Linked DNA regions of Homo sapiens: all the other regions are linked to region 3. Evidence: promoter capture Hi-C in 16 types of primary human blood cells and fetal thymus (Javierre and others, 2016). All regions are on one chromosome and are shown on one strand. Each heading gives the region's core, a stretch centred on a gene start or on the middle of the fragment in contact. The rest is flanking DNA. Distances are from core to core; before and after follow the strand shown. Region 1 overlaps RUNX1T1 (RUNX1 partner transcriptional co-repressor 1). Region 2 overlaps RUNX1T1 (RUNX1 partner transcriptional co-repressor 1). Region 3 holds the start of LINC02906 (long intergenic non-protein coding RNA 2906). Region 4 overlaps RUNX1T1 (RUNX1 partner transcriptional co-repressor 1).

What was found. The method cuts DNA at HindIII sites, captures the fragments that hold promoters and counts their contacts. A CHiCAGO score of 5 or more calls a contact.
Region 1: a contact is called between a fragment that was not itself captured here and the fragment with the promoter of LINC02906 in region 3, in 1 of 17 cell types (M0 macrophages). The highest score is 5.2, in M0 macrophages.
Region 2: a contact is called between a fragment that was not itself captured here and the fragment with the promoter of LINC02906 in region 3, in 1 of 17 cell types (M2 macrophages). The highest score is 5.9, in M2 macrophages.
Region 4: a contact is called between a fragment that was not itself captured here and the fragment with the promoter of LINC02906 in region 3, in 1 of 17 cell types (M0 macrophages). The highest score is 5.8, in M0 macrophages.

Annotation. Positions count from the first base shown.
Region 1 is chr8:91,962,994-91,966,493 of GRCh38, forward strand. All of the region lies in intron 11 of RUNX1T1 (RUNX1 partner transcriptional co-repressor 1), which reads right to left. Among named protein-coding and RNA genes, the nearest start is that of RUNX1T1, 140 kb to the right of the region's middle. The HindIII fragment of the contact is 1,870 bases long and covers 1,153-3,022 here.
Region 2 is chr8:92,089,796-92,092,970 of GRCh38, forward strand. The region is part of intron 1 of RUNX1T1 (RUNX1 partner transcriptional co-repressor 1); the gene reads right to left. Among named protein-coding and RNA genes, the nearest start is that of RUNX1T1, 12 kb to the right of the region's middle. The HindIII fragment of the contact is 2,183 bases long and covers 423-2,605 here.
Region 3 is chr8:93,165,294-93,168,479 of GRCh38, forward strand. LINC02906 (long intergenic non-protein coding RNA 2906) reads right to left here and starts at 1,557. Exons shown (of 3, transcript NR_161372.1): 1 at 1,438-1,557. LOC105375644 (a long non-coding RNA gene) reads left to right here. Exons shown (of 5, transcript XR_928417.1): 4 at 1,597-1,718. The HindIII fragment of the contact is 1,956 bases long and covers 1-1,802 here.
Region 4 is chr8:92,070,784-92,073,935 of GRCh38, forward strand. All of the region lies in intron 2 of RUNX1T1 (RUNX1 partner transcriptional co-repressor 1), which reads right to left. Among named protein-coding and RNA genes, the nearest start is that of RUNX1T1, 31 kb to the right of the region's middle. RefSeq lists an enhancer at 920-1,419. The HindIII fragment of the contact is 4,222 bases long and covers 1-3,152 here.

The DNA.
Region 1 (3,500 bases), core at 838-3,337, 1.2 Mb before region 3:
CTAAACCAGGTAATTACAGATGCATGTGCTGGGAAGTGGAAAGGGAGACAGAATGGGGGCTTCTTTATTTTTTAAAGTGTTTTCAAAGATGGGAACAATTTTACAAATAAAAAAGTGGAATTGTGCCAAATACAGAAACAGATGTTTTGGATCGTGAAGCTGCTGGGAATTGAGCCTTCTTGCATAGTATTGTCTGGTTCTGATCCAGGAGTTAAGGGGTCTGGCTAGTTTTACCTCTAGTTTCATTCTCAAGTTGTTTGATACTATTCATTTACCACCCACCACTGGGACAAAAGAAAAAACAACCTTCAGCTGTAGGAAGTTACAAAAAGAGCAATTTTAATGATCTGGTTAAAAAAAAATCTGCAAATTTTTATTTCTCTTGACATTGCATTGCAGTGAATGTGTAGGGAACTTTAGTGAGTGTTCAACTAACAAACGCTCCAATGCGCATATTCATTCTTAAAAGCTCATTAGAAAACTGAAAGAGCAATTTCTATTAATATATTTCTCTTGGATGCTCTAGTGAATTTACTGTTGGCTAATCCATACCTGCAAGACTGATGCCTGATCAGTGGCACTCAGCCCCTGAATAGTCACAATTCTGGAAACAGCGGAAGGTGCAGAATCTTTTGAGTACTCCAATTTGGATCATTCTAAGCTTTCTACTGTTCACAAAGGTGGAAATTGCAAACTGTGTCTAACAGCCACGTGTCTATCCACAAGGGCTGGGATAAAGGCAGTCAATGGCTTAATCTAATTTTACATTTTGCAGTTTGTGCATTTTATATTCAAGATACTATTTCCTGATAATTGTTTTATTTATTTATTTTTAAATGACTGAGCTTCCCTTTCAGGCCTCTAAGGAGTGATGTCACTGAAATTACCATAATAGTGTAGAAAGCTCACGGATATCCATATCACAGCAAATTTCATTCCCAAAGCTCATGGCACTTTATAGTATTCCTTTATTTGTGATAATGTTATTCCCTTTTTGGCATAAAGAATATTTTCCTCCCTATCTGAAAAGTAAGAATAAGTCAATTGACCAAAGTTAGGTTGTGACTCAGATGAAGAATTTGTGGCTGAACACGAACCTCCCCTTTGCTAAATATACTAAATACAAGGCTATATACAGAATCAATGGACTGAAGCTTTTGAATGCCAACACTGCATACTGAAGGTATTCGACACTTTGTTTCAAATCAGCATTTCTCTTTGTCCCTAAGAAAAACATTTAGAGAATGATCTTTCTGTCGTACAGGCATATATCCCTTCTGGTTCTTACTGCAGAAAAATCTTTTTCTGAAGGACAAAATATCTTTTATTTTGTCTCTGAACTGCTTTAAGTCTCTCCAGGTCTTACATATCTATAATTCTTCAGAAAAACTTGCACAAAATCGATGTGTAATAAATTTAAATATAATAGAATGATTGTAATTGAAACTCCTCAAATGTTAAGAATCCTACAGAAGGCAACACATTGACTTAAATTCACATTAAGATTGCATCATCATCTACTTGCATTGCACTTGACAATTTAAAATCATTTTCACATGATTGCAGTTTCAGAAACTGGGACCCTCAAAATAAATAATTTTCACAGTAAAAGGCTTGCCCCAAGTCACAAAAATATAAAATTACATAGCCAAAGTTTGATTCACCCAGATGTTTGGATTACAAATTAAAAATATTCTTTCTAAAATGCCACACTTTGTCAACTTCAGATCTTTTATTAGCTCTCATTGTGGCAAGAACAGGTTAGCAGGCACTTAACTCCCAAAAATGGACAGAAATTGAACCATAAAGTCAGAGGCAGCAAAGACAAGGTGTCAGAGTGTGTAATGAAAATGGCACAGGCTTCAAAAGCCAGGCCAACTTCATTTCATTTCCAACTTCATCACTTTGTGGCTTTAGAACCACAAGCCACTTACTTAACCCTTGGAGCAACAGAACATGTAAAGCAGGAATAATAACTGCAGGATTATTCAGGGTTATGTCAGTGCTAAGCACAGTGCATGATGTTCATAGGTCCTGAATAAATGGCAGGTACTACCACCACTCCCTCCTTTTGGTACTGACTGGAAGAAAGAGAGAGTAGATACAGTCCTTGCTCCAGATCCAGCACCTTACAACCTTTAGAATTAGAAGGCTGATGGTCCCATTCAAATTAAGTGCTATCACCCATGGGCACTGACAGCTACAGGAGAAGAACATTAACTTACTTCTCCTCATACTTCATTAGTGACTAATAATTTCTTCCGCAACTTCATTTGCTGTCCTCAAAATTTCTGAAGATTTACCATTGCTGATTACTTCCCCGTTCTTCCTTATTAAATGCCTCTTGTTGAAATTTCCCCTACTAAAATTCTCTTTCTTATACAATAACTTCTTCTGCTGTTTGTTCTTTTCCCTGTAGTTGACAGTGAGGGAGGGAGGGATGCTGGCATAAAGAAAAGGAATATCTTTTCCTTCTCATGCTGCCCCTTGTGAGATCTTGTGGTTTCAATGATCAGCTGTAAGCAAATTACTCTCAAACCTGTTTCTCCTTGTTATCTTCTTCCTGAGCTTTGTGCTCCTATTTCAACTGCCTGTTCTGTAGGTACCTCCACCAGGATGCTCCTCTAAGTCAGTATTCCCTAAACCCAACTCTGGTGGGTCCATTTCAGTCTTTGGCAACACTCATGCCCAAGACTTTGTCACTTTATTGCAAACCCCTCTTTCTTTAGCCCCTGGAACCATTCAGTGCCAAACCCCACAGACTACTTCTGTGGTCTCTCTCCTTTTCAATCGCATAGTCACTACTCTAATTCTCTCGCCACCCTTCCTGTTAGGATCATTTCTTAACTGTTTTTCTTCTCCGTTTTCCTCTTTCGTTCTTACATAGACACACTGCTCATTTGTAAGGTGACTTTTCTTTTAATAAAATACTTCTCCTCATCTCATTGGCACCTCTCCACCACCTTGCAAAGCAGGCAGATCACAGAAACGTTATCCCAAATTTTGCAGATGAGAAAACCAAAGCTTCAAGAGGTGAGCAACCAAAGGTCAATCCTAGCCCAGTGCCCTGTCTACTATACCATGAACATCTACGGAATCAAACAGCTGGCATATATATATATATTTATAAAATATATATATATAATTGTACATATTGTATATTGTATAACTATATATATATATATATGTAACATAGCATCATAGCTCATGCTCTGAGAGCTCCAAATTTTTCTGGGAATCAACTGGTCTGATGAGATTGTGAAGGCTTTGACAGGACCCATGCTGTGAGGTCCCTATGTTTTATTCAGAGTCTACACAGGTGGCATTTCCAGTTTGGGCCAAACTTCACAGATTCCACTGAGGTTGGTATAACTGTGCAGCTCTGCACCTATATAAGAATGATAAATAAAGGCTGTTTTAATCTGGGGGAAAAACATCACTTTGGTAGTTTAAAACTCTAAACTATTAGAACAATAAAAGTATTTATCTGTTTCTGTGCT
Region 2 (3,175 bases), core at 264-2,763, 1.1 Mb before region 3:
GAATGGCTCCCTAGTCCATAATGGCTCTTCTTTATGATGGAGAAGACTGGAATGATAGTAATATTCCACACTGATCCCTTTCCCAGTTAGATGAAGATTTATAGTGTCACCCACCCCAATCCCTGAATTTAAAAAAAAAAAAAAAAAAAAAAAAGCATTTTTTTTTCACTCTCCTAACCCTGGGAAAGCCCCAAAGCCTACTTTCAGTATCACACAGAGACTTGTCCGTATGAGAGTTGGGAAGCCTAAGAATCACCAAGTCTGCCCTTCGCCTTCTGAGAAATTTGCCTGAGGGCTGGAATGCACCCCAGGCCACCCAGCAAGTCAGTGATTGAACTGGAAAGGGAACTTCAGTTTGCCTATTAGTCAAGCGACTGCACACAGACACCAGGTCCTTTTTTTTTTTTTTCTAATACGGAGAAAGCTTTACACTATGAAACTAGTTACAAACTCTTTTTTTCCAGCAGTAAAGGTGGTGTACAAGTCCTCTAACCTTATCTTAAGAGGTAACCAGGAAGTTGAACCTGGCCAACTGGGAAATGCTGAGATCAAGATATAATGGAGTGACCAACTACGAAAGGAACAAGACTCAAGAACTAAGGACTGGGCAGAAAATCACTCCAGCATACTGGATAAGTTCAACAACAACAACAACAAAAACAGATTAAATCCTCATGGCCTCAGTGCAGTGTAGAATGAAGGTATTCTGATGCAGGAACAGAATTTGGTAATAGAGAAGCCTGGATCAGGTGGTACTGAGGAATATAGACTAGCACACACTTGTGAGTATCCAAGGATATGTCAGCTAGAAGCCAACTCTGATTCCTAAGTGGGGGTGAAGAGGGGATAACTGAAAGAAAACAATGGATGAGTAGAAATGGCCACTGAAGAGAATATGCAGCCAATTTTTCAGAGAATAAGGTCCTAAATAATTACTAAAGCTCAGGCACAAAGTAAGTCATTAATTTGGGGAATACGAAGAAACCTCAATTTTCTAAATTGGGGCAAAAGATCAAGCCAGAAGAGTAACTATGGCAAGAGTCTCAGAGCAATGGGCTGGAGTTCTTTGAAATGAAGAAAGTGAAACACTGGTTAATCAATTACTTAAAATCAGTGATGAGAATGTATGTGAAGGTTGGTGAAGGACAGGCTCATAGTAGGTCTCTAGTATTTATCAATTCCTCTCCTCTCTCCCAAGACCAACAACTAAGTAGCAGCCCTCAAGAGCCCTGAGCACACTTAGAAGTGGTCTGTGCCCCAGGTGTTAAAAGATTAATGAACCCAGTCAATCACATTCCCCAAGGCACTTAGAGGTGCTTAGATTGCTGGAGACACAACGGGAAAACTTCACATTTGTGCCCTCTGCATTCCTCTTCTACAAGATCTATATTCTAAAGGCCCTATTCATCCAAATAGTGATTTGCTTTAGAGGCCTTGATCGATATGAAACCGACCAAAACAAATGCCTGCTTTATTCCTTCATGAATTACTTTATAAAGGTAATCACAATTAGAACTATTAAAGGAGATGATTTTAAGTTGGTATCTCTTGGTCCTTGAAAATATTAGTAGTTGTAGGCAACATTGACAGTTTTAAGCTCTTTCAAACAAGCAGGTCTTACACTTTAAACATCAACCATGGGACATTACTTTACCAGTAGTTCTGATGTAAGAGCCTGGACATGATTTCATCAAGTATCAACATTTCAAAAAGAGGCACAGGAATCTCCCCTGTTGGTGTCATGTAAGGTACCGTGGCTTCAAAAACAACTCTCATTAGAAGATCACATCCCAAGTGAAGGGATTATGTCTGTGAATAAACTTTTTGTACACTGATATGTGATTCAGCATCTTTTCTTAAAAGTGTCAGAAACTGGTGCTATATTGGAGGAAATAGCCGCATGATGCCCAGCTCTCTTTAAGATATGCCAGCATGACATGCCATACTGAACTGTTCTTTGGGCTTGAAACTGGAAACTGCATTCCTTAAAAGCATACTTCTTTGGTTGGTTCCATACATGTAATCGCAAATACTCACATTCAACATTGTTCTTCAAACTACCTCTTCTTTTGAGTTGGTGTTTTAGAAGAAACACTGCATTTGTTAATATCAAACATGCTAAGGTGTCACTGTGCCTGCCTTCCCCTTTATACATTCCTGAAATATTTTGAGTTTATCTGTGAAGAGTGTGTCTAGCAATTCACATGTGAAGCCACAAACTCAGCTAATTGATCCTCAGCAGTGATCAGGTCTCACCCCAGACAAATTACTATAGCCACAAGCCCACCAAACTGCAATCCAAGGTTGAGTCAGTATTGAACCTCATCCAAATTTCACCAGTCTTCCTTCCTTCTAGTTTAATTCTCTCTGCCCATGTTTTATATGGATAGCGTTGCCATTCACTTTCTTGTTATAAGGACGCAGTATTATTTTTATTATGATTATTTAAGACATCTTAAGAGTTTCCTTTTTAATTAAAATTAGATAATTTTAAAAGAACATGTCTTTCCTAGCAATGTCACTAGTAAAATGCATCCAATTTTTCTCTATGTGGTGCTTTCCCTGTCCATAAAACTTATTTGATTAGCAGTACTATAGAAGCTAAAGCTTTTGTATGCAGGCACTCAAGCATAATTTAATCATTTTATTTAAGCATGGAAAAGATTATTCTGAAAGCCCTGTTAGTAAAATATCCCTGATTAGTTTAAACTTACATTTGCAGGTATATTAAAGGTAAAATAAATCTCGGAATGCTCAGTATGCAAGAACAGTGTTAACTTTGTTACAACAGTCCGGCAGTAAGTTAAAAATTGTAGTATTAGAGAATGTAAGGAATAACTATCTGATTTTCAATACATGTATTTAAACAGGTTATTTTAAAATAAATTTTGTTTTGTGTGAACCCCTTTTTATTACCAGGATTTTCACCTATGGAAACCTCTTTTATAGTCAAACAAGATGAGGTCTTAATTGCATACTACCATTTATCTGCTGAGGATAAAAGTGCCAACAAATGAAAATGCACATTAGGCAAGAGATTGTCAGAATAGAAAATTTTTTTTTTATTTTTTTGTTTTTTTGTTTTTAAATAACCCACTCACATTAACAAAAGACTGCAGTAGCTTCCAAATTATAGGTTGTTATTTTTAGTGGAAGTAGTTCAATATTCATATTG
Region 3 (3,186 bases), core at 307-2,806:
AAGGTTCATTAGAGCTAATACTACAATAAATATAAAATGAATTAGTAATGATTACACCATTGTTTTAAAGCATTCTTATTTGTACTTTTGTATTTACTTTAATCACCATCACTCTAAATGGCAGTGAACAAAAGCCAGGCTGGGCATATTTATGTAGAAATAATGAGGCATATAAATGCAACTCAGTGAAAGCCATGCACATCTTATCTGCATTTGTTCATCAACACACCCATTTGTGTGGAAGGTTACTAAAAAAGACATACTCTTTATAACATTTGTGAGGAAAATTAAAATCATCTTGCAATTGGTCCTCCTCTTTGGTTTGAAATTGTTCCTTCTGAATACCTCCATTCTGATTCAAGATGCTAGCAGAGTGCCTGGCACACAGTAGGAAGATCATAAATATTTGTTAAATAATGTCCATGCCTCCATGTTACATTCTCGTCTGGAAGGACTACTGGCTACACTTGAGTATGTTTAATTTTAACTTTGATTTCAAAGAATCTGTTGATGATTGTCTACATTTACAATCAATGTTGGACAGATTTTATTTACTAGGGGGCAAAAGGGAAAAGGAGAGAAATCTCTCTATTTCTGCCAGCTAACCAAAGTGGGGCAAAGAATGTAATAGATAACTCCTTCTTTCAGAATGGGTCAGTAGAGAGGAAAATCAAAAGAAAAAGCTATAAAGGTGTATTTTACATTCTCTTTTCCCATTCCTTCTTTCATTTTTTTTTTTTTTTTTTTTTTGGAGATGGAGTCTTGCCCTGTCGCCCAGGCTGGAGTGCGGTGGTGCAATCTCGTCTCACTGCAAGCTCCGTCTCCCAGGTTCACACCATTCTCCTGCCTCAGCGTCCCGAGTAGCTGGGACTACAGGCGCCCGCCACCACGCCCAGCTAATTTTTTGTACTTTTAGTAGAGACAGGGTTTCACCGTGTTAGCCAGGATGGTCTCGATCTCCTGACCTCGTGATCCGCCCGCCTCAGCCTCCCAAAGTGCTAGGATTACAGGCGTGACCTACTGCACCCCGCCCTCTCTTCCCATTCTTTATGGCTGAATCATTATCTTTTAGGATGTCAGGAAGCTGATTGTTTCAATTACTCTGATAAAAGAAGGCAAAGAGGAAAAGAAACAACAAAACTCTCCTCTCTTCCTTTTATACCCTTGCTAATGACAAACATTTCCACATGGGCTCTTACAGAATCTTAAGTCCTGATTACATCTGAACTAGAGCTGAATGGATAACATAGTTAAGTTGCTATTATTTTAAAAAGTTACTTGTATTTGCTCTTAAGTACTGGGTAGTCAGAAACCTGCCATTTTATGAATATTGACAATGTGATAAAGGGACAATTCCTCCAAAATAAGTCACAGAGTCCTGAGCATCTTGGAGGGGAAAATGTGGGTGTTTTTGGTGGGTAGAAAATGGATACTTACTTGTCTTTGGAGATCGGGTTCTCTTTGGAGTTCGCATGCTGCTGGATGAATGCTGTCAAAGTCCTGGCCCATGCTTGCTTGCCCTCTAAATCCTCTGCCCTAGCTTCTTGTTGCTTTGATTTTATGTTCTCTCTACTCACATGACTATTTGTCCAGCAGAGAAGCTAAGGATTTGCTAACTGTGAAGAAAAAGATTATGTGTTTCACAACACTGCAAGCCTCGAAACCACAGAAGCAGTGAGCAAGCTAACATTTATTCTAAAGATAAACATGAAATCCAGGTAAAGAAACAAAGCACAATTTATTATCCTATTGATCACTAAGAGACTAATGTCTTTTCCTTTCCTAAAGACATTTATCCAATAAGCTTTGTATACACCACAGCAACAATCTGTAACCCATTACAGAAGTGTCACTAACATAGCGTTAATTACCACAGTATGTGACTTGGAAATGGTATCTTGAGTAAAGTGGGATATTTGGTCCACAGCCCAACATCAGGGTCTTTTTTGTCTCCAGCTTGAGGCCATTCTCCACCTCTGGGTCAGGAAATAGGATATTCTAAGGAGTTAAGAAGTAGGTTCCTGATGTTTCTTCCTTTCCTTTCTCAGTTTATACCTCCAGGTCAACACTCTCATCTGATCTCAGAAGAATTCATCATTTTTTGAGGACCTACTTTGTGCTAGGAACTTTATGTAAATGTGTTCTTTTAGTCTTTATCACTCTGTAATATGTTAGTGTACTCATTTATCGGTGTAATTCTATGTATATAACTCAATAAACTGATAATACAAAAAGAACTTTTAAATTGGTATGCCCACCTCACCAAAGCTCTTTTTATTTAGTCATGAAATTTCATAACTAAAGGAAGTTCACAAATTGAAGACTAAAGATTAAATAACACAGGTAATAAATGACACACAGCATTACCATTAATTGCACAGAGCCACCTTTGCAGCCACTCCTGTGGGAGGTTATTTGTAATTACATTGTATGCTAGACCTGTATGTGAAGTGAACAGACTTTTTCTCACCATCCTGGTCAAAAATATTTTATTTAATACCAGATCTAAATACAGACTATTTTGCTAGATACTAGAGAAGTTTTAAGGCTTTTGTCTAATATGTGAGAACACAAGTCTTTCTCATTTTAGATCAAGCTATTACCTCTCTTCAATTTGCATGTTAGCTTTTAAGAGCACTCTTGGAAATCATAAACGTACCCAGGCACTCTGCCACCATCTACTTTGGTCTGTAGCATGATGGAAAGGAGGGTGAGAATAGGGAAAGTGGATAGATGAGAATCAAAATAGATGATGCTCTATTCTAAATAAATTAGGGAGAAAGAGAATGTAAGAAGAAATTTTAAAAAGTGAAAGGTTAATACTGATAATAATAATAATATCTAATCTGTCAGAGTTTACTATGCAGACACAGTGCTAAATGAGTTATACACATTATTCATTTAAATCCTCAGGATAATCCCTTCATTTAGGTGCTATGATGATCCCCAAATTGCTAATGAGACAGCTGAGGTTTAAAAAAGTTAGTATCTAATCCAAACTAGCTAGTAGATGACATCTGGATTCCAACCCAGAATGCTTGCACCAGTGCTTGCACCTCTAATCATTATGTGTCAGGAAGCAGAAGGAGATAAACAGAACCAGCAATTACTTCATGGAAAGAGCAAATATAAGCCTGTGTTCCTAATGCCACTGGCATACTACAGAATTAGGAGCCAGTATTCAGG
Region 4 (3,152 bases), core at 263-2,762, 1.1 Mb before region 3:
TGGGAGGCACATATGTGCATCTAAAGGGTAAATGCCCTTCAGTCTGCATGACAGAATCCTAATGAAGTAGTTGGAAAAACCAAATCACTGCACATGTAGTCACACTTTCCCCTGCCTTTGCAGGAAACACCACCACCACCACCTTTGTTTCCCAACCCACAGCAAAGACATTTCATCAGCCCACTGTGTGGACAGATTTCCTCTTGGTAAGATAAAATCCTCTTATATTCATGGGATCTCCCAAATGGCTCCATCTCCAAGCACTTCTCAGAATATTTATCCCATGTTACCCTCAAATTGGCCACACATTACTGTGCAAATATTATTTCTCACCACCTCCAGCTTCGTCAAAGAGTATGGCCCTTCCCACAGCAAATGTCAAAGACCATATTCCAATTCCAAGAAAAGGAAAAAACATTCAAGTGCAAAAGTTCTATCACCTTTTTTTAAAAGTGGACTATTCTATTTTCATGGGCAGATGAAGATTCCAAAACCGCCTCATAAAAGCAATCTCTGAGCTACTAGCTCCACACCAGACTACTAATGAGTCTGACTGGAAAAGAGCAACACACATAGGACACTATATAATGGGAACTCAGAAAATAAGAACCCAACAAACTAAGGCCAGCCCTCTACTGGTTAACGTCTGTTGCTGCTGAAACAGATTGTTTCATAGCAAGGCCAGAAGTGTAAAATAGAGCCAAATTCTTAGATCTTTTTTTTTTTTAATCAAGCATGTCTGTCAGTGTGGTCCACAAGGGGAGAGCAGGGGACACAGCATTGGCAGGAACCTCAAATTCCTGACCAAACCCTCTTCCACACAATGCCTCCCGAAAGAAAGGAACCCAGGGTTTGAGCCAGCCTGACGCTGGCGGACAGACAGGGCTGGCCTTGCAGGATGTCAGAGCGCCAGGCGGCTGTGAGAGATACTGGGTTTTCACACACTCCCAGCCTGACTGTTTTGCTCTTCAGGTAATTAAACAAGGAAGCAGGGCTGCTGGGTATGAGCCTGACCCCGAAGCTGCGGCTCCATGGTTCTGCATATCAACTTCCGCAAGAACTGCCCGGAGCATCAACAGAACATTCTCCTCTCACTCTCTCTCATTTCCTTCTCCACCTCTTCCTAAAGCTGACCCAGAAACAAGTCCTGCCTATAAAAACATCCAGAGAAAGGTCTGATTTTATTTGTCATAAAAATCTCTATGCTATTCCCAGTCATTACCCTCCAAATTTTAAAAAACAAAAAAGTACCTTAATGGCAGAAACTTCATAAAAATTCATATACAGCAAATCTGTGTAAAACGCTGGTATCTTAATCAAGATGGATCAAAGAAAATTGTACTCAAATAATTATAATTTTTAACATGCTTGATTAAAGTGTAAATCTTCAAATTCAAAGAAGGCTCACCAAGAAATAAATGATTTTGATAGTCCAGTTTACAAATTAAACATTTGTTGTGTTACATAATTAACATTGTTATTTTAAATTTTGATAGTGGTAATTAATGTAAGCAAATACCATCTATGATCTGGTTTATTATGTTTCACCAAAAATTTTATTTAAACAAAACTCTAAAATATTTTGTGTGTGCAAAGTCACCAAACTCAGGAATATCAAACATATCCTTTAAAAGATAAGAAAGTGGTATATTTATATACATATATATAATTAAACAATGATTAGAATCATATAAATGATATACTCTTCTTTCATCTCAAAATCCATACAGTAAAATATTGGCTGAAAGAGACAGAGACCAAAAGAGAGAAGAATACAAAAGCATGCCTGCTTGTCTGTGTTCAACACAAAGAACATTAAATGAAAACAACTGGCATGCTGCCAAATTCCTATAGAGGCAAAGAGATTCAAATAAATTGATTTCACGCATCACACTGACCTGGGATCAGTGTGCAGTGCTACAATAAGCTCAAAGCTCCATGTGGGGTAAAGCCCATTAATGCTATCAGACCCCTCAAACATGACCAAGAAAAACTAAAAATAAGAGCAGATACTCTCTAAAAGCAGCAATTTTACTTAATAAAATAACTTTCCTCTTCCTAACAAAGATACCAATATATAAAGGTGCACAGCATCATCTATATCAGCATTTTAAAAATACCTCTTTTTCAAAATACAAATGTGGCTTTTGAAACCCACACAATATGTAAAAATTGATACTACCTATATATCCCATTCCATGATATGCATGAACATAAACAGGCACTCTTTGCAAAAAAAGTTTCCTGTCATTCTTTCCTCCCAAGCTGCTTCCTCTTACATCTTTTAGAAAACATATGGATCTTTTTAATATGTCAAATACTACACCCTTCTTAGAATTGTCCTCAATGGCTTATGATAGCAAGCTCCTCAGGCCAGACTACCACTCCTAGGTGTCCCAAATCTGTCTGGTCCCTACAATGGCAGGCATTACAGGAGAACGGCTCCAAATGGCATTCTAGAGGACCAAGCACTGTGTGTACCTTGGGTATGCTTTAAAACACCAGGTGGGAAACACAACAGCGTTCTCATTTTACCAGCTTCCACCCAAGCTGGTGGCATACCCCTTTAGTATCATTTCCCACCCTCCTGCCCCCCAGCCTCTGCCCTAACAGAGGCCCATCTCCAGGAGACCCCAGCCTGCTTCAAACTTGCTACGCAGACCAGACTCTCTGGCGCCACCTCAGGCCATTCTCACTCACAATGCCGACTGTTCAGCCATGGATAGTCCTTTGCTTTATCTGCTTCTAAATTACAACTCCAAAACTCTAAGAGCCCAATGGATTCCAGGTGTTCTAAAATGTAAAGTATGTGATTTCTGTTTTCCCAACTTCTTGAGTTTGAACCCCATATTTCTATACACCTAATATTATTACAAAGAGGAAAAAAAAATTAGGAGTAATTATTATTGTTAGTATATTTTTTCATTTATTTAAAAACAGGGCCTTGCTGTTGCCCAGGCAGGAGTAAAACGGTGCAATCATCGCTCACTGCAGCCACGAATTCCTGGGCTCGAGCAATCCTCCCACTTTAGCCTCCCAAGTAGCTGGGACTACAGGCATGTGCCATCACACTCGCCTGAATTTTTAATTTTTTTGTAGAGATGGGGTCTCACTTTGTTGCCCAGACTGGTCTAGAACTCCTGAGTTCAAGC